2 separate regions of the Homo sapiens genome follow, and region 2 is linked to region 1. Evidence: promoter capture Hi-C in 16 types of primary human blood cells and fetal thymus (Javierre and others, 2016). All regions are on one chromosome and are shown on one strand. Each heading gives the region's core, a stretch centred on a gene start or on the middle of the fragment in contact. The rest is flanking DNA. Distances are from core to core; before and after follow the strand shown. Region 1 holds the start of ZBTB6 (zinc finger and BTB domain containing 6). Region 2 overlaps RABGAP1 (RAB GTPase activating protein 1).

Evidence for each region. Contacts are between HindIII fragments. The CHiCAGO score rates a contact against its expected background, and 5 or more counts as called.
Region 2: a contact is called between a fragment that was not itself captured here and the fragment with the promoter of ZBTB6 in region 1, in 1 of 17 cell types (megakaryocytes). The highest score is 6.9, in megakaryocytes.

What each region holds. Positions count from the first base shown.
Region 1 is chr9:122,912,042-122,917,372 of GRCh38, reverse strand. ZBTB6 (zinc finger and BTB domain containing 6) reads left to right here and starts at 4,050. Exons shown (of 2, transcript NM_006626.6): 1 at 4,050-4,122; 2 at 5,292-5,331. The coding sequence starts at 5,301. ZBTB26 (zinc finger and BTB domain containing 26) reads left to right here. Exons shown (of 2, transcript NM_020924.4): 2 at 1-1,807. RefSeq lists enhancers at 1,760-2,517, 3,986-4,215, 4,226-4,335. The HindIII fragment of the contact is 12,849 bases long and covers 1-5,331 here.
Region 2 is chr9:123,061,289-123,066,790 of GRCh38, reverse strand. RABGAP1 (RAB GTPase activating protein 1) reads right to left here. Exons shown (of 26, transcript NM_012197.4): 14 at 1,330-1,443. It also overlaps the pseudogene LOC100422501. Among named protein-coding and RNA genes, the nearest start is that of GPR21, 30 kb to the right of the region's middle. The HindIII fragment of the contact is 1,062 bases long and covers 3,437-4,498 here.

The sequences.
Region 1 (5,331 bases), core at 2,801-5,300:
TTAGAGAATCTTAAGAGGTCATTTACTCCACCTCTTTCATTTTAAATTGGGGTATCCAAAGCCTGAAGAGGTGGCCTGGCCAATATTGACCAAGGTATAACTAAATATGAGCTAGCATCTTCTTCCTTCTTCTCGCTATCCCTTGGCTTTAAAAGATTTAGTACATGAAGAATAATGCATTAGCAAAAAGCTCCTAGTTTGTGTTTCCCCTTTGTGTCTCCCTGTTGGCTTTCTGAGACAACCTGAATTTTGCCAACAAAATATCGCAGAGGGATTTATATTAATTATTTTTTAGTTAGATGAATATTATATTCTTCCCATCCAAGTGAGTGATTTGCTAGGTTTGTTTAGGGAGGGAAAAAGCAAGAATAATGTGAGAAGAATCTAAATGCGAAGTTGATTTTGTGTGGAAAACTGTTTATTAGTTTCCATCAGGATTTTCTGTTTTTATTTTTGAGCTATGAGAGTGCATGCAGATTTGAAAAATTAGGCTTGCATAGTCAGAGGGGATCTTCAATTGTTATATTTGATACGTTTACATGTATCATTGTTATCATATGTAAATTATCATCATGTGAGTCAGATGTGAAGTATGATTTTTGTCTTTTGTTCAAATATTTAAAATGATAATACAGTTGAGTGGTAAGACTAATAGGTACCTTATGCCTAACATCACTCATTATATGGTCTAATGATGCTTCCTAGCATTGTGATTTTTACATGATCCAGCCAAAGAGTACCAATTCTATGCAATAGTGAGACTCTACCCTGTCAACCAAACAGCATTTTTTGGTATTTTCTGTCAACATCATTTCTTCACAGGGAAATTTCAAGTTGGAGTGCTTCGTTTGCTCACATTCATGTCTTGTTTTTGTTACTGGTTTGAAGACTAAAAGGCACGGGTTCAAATAAGATTGGTCTCTTTGGTTGGAGACTATTTCTGGGTTCATTCAGTTGTTCAAGAAACATTAGTTAAGCACCTACTGTTGCTAGACACTATGCTAGATACTGAGGATAATGAAGGTAAGATTGATATAGTCCCTGCCCTCATGGAGCTTATAGTCTCATGTGGTCTTAGTGAAACAAAGTCTCAATTTGCTTTTATACTAGAAATAATAAAGAAAGCTGCCTTGCTGTATTCGATCAGTTAAAATCAGCAACTTTGTGCTTTTGTATCAGTAAAACATTTAGTTCTCACCTTTTGAAAATGCAAACCACTGAAGTGATTTACAGTCTCCTCCATTTTTGGCTGGAGAGGTGTTCTGTTTCTGTGAGACATTTTTCTAATTTTTGTGGAACTTCACTTTCCTCCTTCTTTGCTTATACGTGTTTGTTAGATTATATTGCAAAGAAGTCAAGTTACTGATATCCAGTATTTTACAGAGGAAGATGACTTTCAAAACTAGTCATATTTCTGTAGAGGAGGAAGATTTTTAAAACCTTTATCATTCAGCATTTGTATTTTATGGATCCCCAGGAGAACTAAAAAGGAGATGACTCTCTACCATAGTTTGGTTTAAAAAAAAATTACTCTGTCAGTTATTTATTTATTATTTAATACTAAACTCCAAACTGAAGTGGCTCTGAGGTAAATCAGATATGATTTTAATTTAAGTTTCTTTATTAGCAGATCTATAAATGGAAGGTGACCAATGTCACTGCTTCTAAAATACTGTCCTAAACAACCCAGAAGATTTTATTTCAGCTCATGAATAGCTGTTCTAAATCTGTTGTATGTTAGACATACTATGAACTACCTCTTCACTTATTATGGGGAAGTTTCCTTAATAAAAGTGTGACGATTAAAGCTCTGGTGTCATTGGTTATTTTCTCACTCTCCCCTCCTTCTATTCTTTTTTAATTGCTTTACTTTGAATACAGGAAGGTCTTCTTTATGTATAGTCTTAAAAATACATATTAAGCATGCTGAGCTTGCCTTCAGAAAAAAATACGAATTAATCAGAAAGTTGTTACTAGATTCATTTACTTCCACGAGAACCTGTTGCTGGAGGAGCAGAGCAACTGCCTTTAAGAATTGGTTCAGAGGCGGCCGGGCGCGGTGGCTCACGCCTGTAATCCCAGCACTTTGGGAGGCCGAGGCGGGTGGATCACAAGGTCAGGAGATCGAGACCATCCTGGCTAACACGGTGAAACCCCGTCTCTACTAAAAATACAAAAAATTAGCCGGGCCTGGTGGCAGGGCATTAGTCCCAGCTACTCGGGAGGCTGAGGCAGGAGAATGGCGTGAACCCGAGAGGCGGAGCTTGCAGTGAGCCAAGATCGCACCACTGCACTCCAGTCTGGGCGACAGAGCGAGACTTTGTCTCAAAAAAAAAAAAAAAAAAAAAAAAAAAGGAATAGAATTGGTGCAGAGGCCGGGCGCGGCGGCTCATGCCTGTAATCCCAGCACTTTGGGAGGCCAAGGCGGGTGGATCACCTGAGGTCAGGAGTTCGAGACCGGCCTGGCCAACATGGTGAAACCCCGTCTCTACCAAAAATACAAAAAGTAGCTGGGTGTGGTGGCAGGCACCTGTAATCCCAGCTACTCGGGAGGCTGAGGCAGGAGAATTGCTTGAACCTGCTAGGCGGAGGTTGCGGTAGGCCGAGATCGTGCCACTGCACTCCAGCCTGGACCACAGAGTGAGACTCTGTCTCAAAAAAAAAAGAAAAAGAATTTCTTCAGTCATATCTTCATTCAGCACAAATACTTGATGCCTACCAAGTGCTAGACTTCGAGAATACAAAGATCAGTAAGCCACTGTCCTAAATAACTCTGCCTAGATGAGGCACAAATTAATACAGGCGTGTTAAGTGCAATAATGAAGGCAGGAAAAGGGATTACAGGTTTCAAACTGGGAACCAATTATCTTAGGGCAGTTCAGGATGGCTTCAGGATGATGAGATTTATAAACGGGTTCTTTAAAGATACGTTGGGGAAGGCCGGGCTCGGTGGCTCACGCCTGTAATCCCAGCACTTTGGGAGGCCAAGGCGGGCGGATCACGAGGTCAGGAGATCGAGACCATCCTGGCTAACACGGTGAAACCCCGTCTCTACTAAAAATACAAAAAAAAAAAAATTAGCCAGGCGAAGTGGCGGGCACCTGAAGTCCCAGCTTACTCGGGAGGCTGAGGCAGGAGAATGGCGTGAACCCAGGAGGCGGAGCTTGCAGTGAGCCGAGATCCTGCCGCTGCACTCCAGCCTGGGCGACAGAGAGAGACTCCGTCTCAAAAAAAAAAAAAAAAAGCCTGGGGAAAAGGCTAGGGCACGTCAGAGGAAACAGCTGGGCCAAAAGTTTTGGGATGGAGGAACGCATTTAAGTGTGAAGCTAGATCCAGAGGTTGGGGCCATCTCCTGATGGGGCATTATCTAGGCAATCTCGAATACGGATCTTTATGATAGTTTCTGCTCTGCCACCTTTCAAGTTGTAGGTGGCCCCAATAAGGAGAGGAATCGTCCCAGAATAATCCATAAAAGGTCTGGTTACTCTGACAGACGTGCCGTAACCGAACCTCAAACCCCGTCTCCAATTCGGATGTTCAGGAGGACTCACAAAAGGAAATGGCTCGGCTGGGCGCGGTGGCTCAACCCGGTAATCCCAGCATTTAGGGAGGCCGAGGCGGGCGGATCTCCTGAGGTCAGGAGTTCGATACCAGCCTAGCCAACATGGTGAAACCCCGTCTCTACTAAAAATACAAAAATGAGCCGGGCGTGGTGGCGGGCGCCTGTAATCTCAGCTACTTGGGAGGCTGCGGAGCGAGAGTCGCTTGAACCCGGGAGGCGAAGGTTGCAGTGAGCCGAAATCGCGCCATTGCACTCCAGCCTGGGCAACAAGAGCGAAACTCCGTCTTAAAAAAAAAAAGGGATGGTGGGGGAAAACGGCTCGAGTGCCGAAACTGGGACAAGAGAGATGGGGCTTGCCGGCATTCAGGAGCCTTTCTGTCATTCCAAGAGGGGGGAAGTGAGGAAGGAAGACCGTCTCAGAATGTCCTTCCGGGGCGCCTAGAGGGCCCCAGTAAAGAATAAAGCTGGTTGGCACCGGATGTGTTTTCTTCCAGGCTAAGTCCATCTTCCGGCTTGGGCAGACGCTGCCGCGGAATCCTTGACTCTAGTTTTCTGAGTCGGTGAGTGAGTGCAAAGTAGATTCCTCAGGTGGAGGGTGCCTGAGGAAGAGGAGGAGGAGGAGGAGGACAGCTGGGCTCGGCCCCGGAGTGGCTAATCTTGTGCTGCAACCACTGGGCCGACAGGGCCTTGGCCCTTCGCAGGGTTGCCTCCAGAATACCTGTGTGCTGAACCTGGCATCCGGTTTCAGTTCAGCAGATGTTCCCTGAGCTCCTCCTGCTCTGTGTGGGCCCCTGAGCTCGGTGCAGGAACACAGATGCATCAGGCACCATCTCGCGGTGCTCAGAGAGCAGCTGACTCTCTCTGGTTGAAACGGGAGGTGGAGTCATATTAGTTTTACTTGATTTGGGCTTAAAGGAGCCTAATCACTAGCTGAAAAAAGGAACTGGAAACGCGAATGTAAGAAATGTGTATTCGTGTCTTTTTGTCTGGGTAATGATGGAAAAATTTAGTATTGAACGAGGTTCGAGTATGAAAAAGAGAATAGAAGGTGATAAAGCCATAAAGATGGGTTAGAGCCAAATCGTGATGGGTCTCGTATTCTTTCCTAAGAAATCTGGACTGTCCCGGAGGTAGAGAAGAACGATAGAAGATTTAAAGCAGAAAAGGGAAATTAAAAATAAAATAAAATAAGGGTTGTTAATCCTGGTGGCACTCAGGCGGGTAATCTGGCATACAGAAGAGTGTGGTATAAAGAAGACCTGTTGGAAGACATTGCAGTTGTCCAGGTGAACCGGAAGGAGGACCTGTTGTAGTGGTGGGGAGTAGGAAGTTTGGAGATTACGTTAAAGTTGCTAATTGGATATATTATGTTAAATCAACTTTTTGGTGGTCACAGTGCTTATATTGGATATTCAAAATTGATAGATTGTTCTTGACCACAAGGCACACAACATTTAGCAAAAGAAACAAGCTAGAAACTGTTCACTACAATTCATTGTAATGAATGTTGTAACAAAGTTATGAAAAATGTGCTATGAGATCATAGAGAAGTGCATTATAAAGTTCTCGTTTTGAGATGGTGGCATAAAGGTTCATAACACCTACATTAGACTTTGAGTCTTCTTCTTCCTAATTCAGGTTTGGGGTTTTTCGTTTGTTTTCACCATTACAGCATGGGAAAGCATTCCCTATCCTTATTACATCAATGTTTGTGTTTTATTTTGCTTAGATTGTGATCATGGCTGCTGAGTCTGATGTTCTGCATTTCC
Region 2 (5,502 bases), core at 2,718-5,217, 150 kb before region 1:
TACAATTGACAGACTTTTACATGGAGACTAATTGTCTGCTGGAAATTTAGACCTTGAGTTAATGTAGATTTGTGAACATCTGTACAGTGATGATAGCTGAAGCTTTGGGGGTAGAAGGGATCACCCAGGGAGATGGTGTAGAGCTAGCCAAACTACCCAACTGAGCACCCAGAGGAAGGCCTCTGGTTTAGGGGCAGGTAGTGTGAGATAAAATGATGAAGTCAGTGAAGGCATGAGAGGGAGCCCGTACCCAAGAGAGTGACATGTCTTATGCTCAAGAGCAGAAAGCTCTGCAAGGAAGAGCACCATGAAATAGGAACTAGAATATAGTGGAGTCAAAAGTATGTGACGAGGGACCAGAGGCAGTGGACATAGCGTTTCTTTCTAGGAAATTCTGTAGTAAAGTGAGAGATGGCAGGGGTCACTGCTTAAGCAGGAAATAAAACTGAGAAGGGGCTAAAAAGGATGATCAGAAAGAAAGATTACCACAGAAATCTGTATCCTATGTAAAAGTTAAAATGAAATCTAAAAAATATTTCTCTAAACTCAACTGTCCTTGTAGTTTAAATCATCGAATTTTTCATTGGCGAGCCTATCCTTTACTGCTAGTCTGTCCTAAAACCAGTTGTCATATAGCATTAGCGACATGTCTCATGCCTTACCTGTACTTACTACATAGGAGATGCTAAATAAGTACTTGATTACTTTTGGGAGGAAAAGACTGAAGACTAATTCTGAGAACAGATGAAGACTGAAAAACTCCGTTCCTATCTCCTCCTTTTATAACCCAATAGCTCTAATGTGCCAAATCTATTTGAAAATGGAATACGGAAATTGAACAGGCTATTACTTCCTTTAGTGTTCGGGTACAGACCTTTTGAGAGAAATCAGAATCTTCCATCATTTACTATGCTGCAGTGCTATAAGTACACCTGGATGGGCAATGACACTTCCCACTGTGAGACCGTACCGTAGGTGCCAAGTTCATCACTTATAAAGTGAATACTGAAAAGGAGTCTGCAGTGTCACAGGGCTCAGAGGTTCTTAACATAAAAACAAATTTTGAAAGTCTAAATGTGGAGCCAGGGAACTGTCATCTAAAAATCCTGATTAGAAGGGGAAAGGAAACCCTACCATTTTATTTCTTATTATTTTCTACTCTTTAATGAATCTAAAATTGTGTTCTCACCTTTGACTTTGCAATGTCTTTTCTCTTTTTGGAATTCTTGAACATCAAATACAAATTACACTTTGTAGTTGTTTCTTATGTAATTTCAAAGTAGAACCACCACTCAGAATTGAGTCCTTTTTTTTTTTGACATGAAATACCTTGCATATTTTATATAAGGAATCTTGTCCATCTCCTCCTGTGTCCTTAAAGTAGTCATGGGCTGGGAATGTTCGGTTAATATCCCGGGTGATAGCACTGTCCTGGGGAGACTCCTGTGGAAACATAAGGAAAGAGAGGGTTTAGTTAGGTTAATCATGTAAACTCTTATTCAGGTTTAGGCAAGGTCTTCTCATTTACACACTTTAAATGTTGCAGGGACATACATACACATATGTATGCCCATAGTTACTGCCTCTTCAGGGACCAACCACTCAAGCAAAAGCAAATGTAAAGGGGGAAAAAAGATGGAAGAAAAGCAACCCATTTCACTCTATACACTTCCATATTATACTCCATCCTTACTGCAAAGAACTGCAGCTGGTGACCCTTCTATTGTAAGATGGAAAATGTGCTATTAAGAATGGATTTCCTATAGGAAAATACTCAAACTAATCGCAAAAGGAGGAGGTAAAGTGCTCCCAGTAGAAAAACTGCTGCTTTAATTGATGCTTTGGAATGAAGCCCATATGCCAGTTTTCAAATGGAAAAGAGTAGTTACTTAATTGGGATTTGTCCTAGAGGCAAATGGCATAAGAATGCACAAAGCAATCTACTCAGTATGAACAAGACCACCAAATGCCAAGGGATTCAAACAGGCTATGGGAAAATATCCTTTGCTTTTTCCAATGGACAAAAACTGTTTCCTCTTCTATAATGAGTTAACTAAAACGGAACAAATGTCAATAATGTCAACAAACCTTTGTAAAATACACCAAGCACCCAGTTATTTCTAATATTCTCCCCTTGTTAAATTTCATTTGCTGACACAGTAAAGAACTGGAACACAGAAATATGACCTTCTACTTTAACAATGCAGTGTCTTCATAGCTAAGACAATAGAGTTGATTCCCCTTGGTAAGAATACATCATAATCAGTATACTACCAAAGAACATGATACCTCTGTTTTAAGATGAAAAATGCAAGTGATGTTCTTCTCTTGTCCAATAATTTCTCTAGCCTTTTGGGTAATCATGTTCCGAAGGCCATGAATATTTTATAGTTGTGGGATCTGAACTAACTTTAAAGCCTATGCTCCTTCTTAAACAGTAAACTATTTATACCTTCAAGGATGTCGCCAAATTGCTTTTCAAAGAGCTTTAGTGGCATATGTTACTTCTAGTTATTAACATAGTCTTAACAGTTAATGGCAGCTCAGGACTGTGGTGCTCTTCAACAAAAGGAAAAAATCCAAGGGAGATCTATGACTACAGCAGCTAATTACATGGTGGCAGCTTCCAGACTGAATTAGAGCTCCGCGTTGGAGGTATCTTCAAAAGTTGAGAAAGTGGGAGAGAGAGGGAGAGCAAGCGAGAGTGAGAAAATGAGAGAGCGAGCGAAGTGAGCGAGAGTGAGAGTGAGAGCGAGTGAGAGAGCACGCACACAAATTTTGGGGCGGGCAAGGTAGCTAGAATTGTAGGGTAGAGTGCTAGTGAGGAATATGCTGAACAGAGAGCTGAAGAGTTAGAAGAGGGGTCGCTATGAGATATGAATTATAAATAAACGACAAGCTGGACACTTCATCAAAATTTAAAAATCTTACTATTCAAAAAACTGTTTAAAATATGAAAAGGTAAGTCACAGGCCAGGACACAATGCCTACAAAACATATCTGATAATAAAGTTGGAGTTGTATCCAGAATATATAACTCTCCAAATTAATGAGAAAGACAATTAATTTTTTAAAGTGGGAATGTGTAAATGATTGAGGTGTTTCATTAAGGAAGATATAACACATGGCAAATAAGCACTTGAAAAGATGTCAACATTACTAGCCCTCAGGGCAGTGCAAATTAAAACCACAATGAGATTCCACTACATATCTACAAAATGCTAAAATTAAGAAGTGTTGGCAAAGGATAAGAAACAACTGGAACTCCTATACAATGCAAAATGGTACAAACACTTTGTAAACAGTTTGGTGGTTTCTTACAATAGTAAACACATAATTACCATACAACCCAGTGATTCCATTCCTAGGTATTTACCAAAGAGAACTGAACATATAAATGCATGAAAAGACTTAAACTCAAATGTTTACAGAAGCTTTATTCCTAACAGCCAAAACTGGAAACAATCCAGAGAGAATCAGATGAATTTAGGAATTCTATAAAACAACAACAGAAGCTCTAAAAAATGCTAAGAATGATAAACTGTGGTTTAAGACAACTACGAAGGTTAGGAAATTAAATTGAGAATGGAGAGGAATATGGAAACGTTCAAAATATTTTACACCAGTTACATCAATCATATCACACTGATTACGGAGATGACAACCTGAAAAAGGATACAGTTATTAGAGATATGAGATTTGGGCTGGGCATGGTAGCTTATGCCTGTAATCCCAGCACTTTCAGAGGCTGAGACAGGTGGGTCACTTGAGGCCAGGAGTTTGAGACCAGCCTGGCAACATGGTGAAACCCTGTCTCTGACTACAAATACAAAAATTAGCCAGGCATGGTGGCAGGTGCCTGTAATCCCAGCTACTTGGAAGGCTGAGGCATGAGAATCGCTTGAGCCAGTGAAGCAGAGGCTATAGTGAGCCAACATCGTGGCACTGCACTCCAGCCTGGGCGACACAGCGAGACCTGTCTCAATTAAAAAAAAGAGAGAGAGAGGAGACGAGATTTAGAAATTCAACTGTACACAGGACGTAAAAAATAACAAAAAACTGAAAGTACTCTCTATAACTGGGCCAGTTCTTGTCAATTTGCCATCCCATATCCATTAATCATGGAATTATCAGAGAATGAAGGGGCAAAATGCCCTTAAAAGAAGGTCATTTTGAAAATTCACACTCAATTTTTGATGCCTTCAAGAATGATAATAAATTGAGGAGTTCCATGTGAATCATTTGCTTAAAATATTTGGCCTTAAGGAAATATGCTGAAGAACTTGGAATAAATTCATTTGACTTGCTGGAGGCCACATCATGCAAAAGTGATGCAGAAATTCTAATAATGATGAGTTTAGTAAGTTCCTATCAGAATGACATTAAATTTGAAAAGGTTCTGAAAATAAAACACAGCAACATTATGGATGATCCCCTAAGAGAAAAAAAGCAAAGAGCTTTTCAAAATAGTCAAAGCAAGTGCTTACAAAATTAAGCTTTATACAACAATATATATTCCTTTTCTTTCTTGTTTCGCTCTTGTCGCCCAGGCTGGAGTACAATGGAGCAATCTTGGCTCACCGCAACCTCCGCCTCCCTGATTCAAGCGATTCTCCTGCCTCAGCCTCCCAAGTAGCTGGGATTACAGGCATGTGCCACCACGCCTGGCTAATTTTTGTATTTTTAGTAGAGACGGGTTTTCTCCACGTTGGTCAGGCTGGTTTTCAACTGACCTCAGGTGATGCGCACGCCTTGACCTCCCAAAGTGTTGGGATTACAGCTGTAAGCTACCACACCCGGCCATATTCCTTTTATTTCTAAGGAGTTAAACATAAATGTAACTGATGTAGAGAGCCTGCCAATGCAACACATGTAACACTATTCGTGGCCAAACTGATCAAGTCAACCAAATACATCCTCTTAAGGAGGCTGTAGTTAGTATAATGGCTTAACAGACAAGTTTTTATAAATGTACTTACGGCAACAGTGCACAGATGGTGACTTTAAAAGAACACGGAATGAATGGCAAAAGTATTGTCAGTTGTTACGTTCTGAAAATTACTGCTGTTATAAGAGAGGTGGGTTGTTTTGTTTTGTTTTGTTTTGTTTGATCAACTGGTTTTGTGTTTTGGCTAATTCATTTATCCCAAGAAAAACACCCTTAATTTCCAGAAGAAAACAAAAATGCAATAGGATTATGCACTATTGCCATCTTGCAAACTTCTTCTATAAAGGGTCAGGTAAAAATTTTTGGCTTTGCAAGCCATTCAGTGCTGCAGTTATTCAACTCTTCCCTTGTAGAGCAGCCATAGACAATATGTAAATAAACAAGCACTGCTGTGTCCTAACAAAACTTTATTTATAAAAGCAAGCGCATGCCAGGCGCAGTAGCTCATGCCTGTAATCCTAGCACTTTGGGAGGCCGAGGCGAGTAAACCACTTGAGCCCAGGAGATTGAGACCAGCCTGGGCAACATGGCAAAATCTCATCTCTACAAAAATA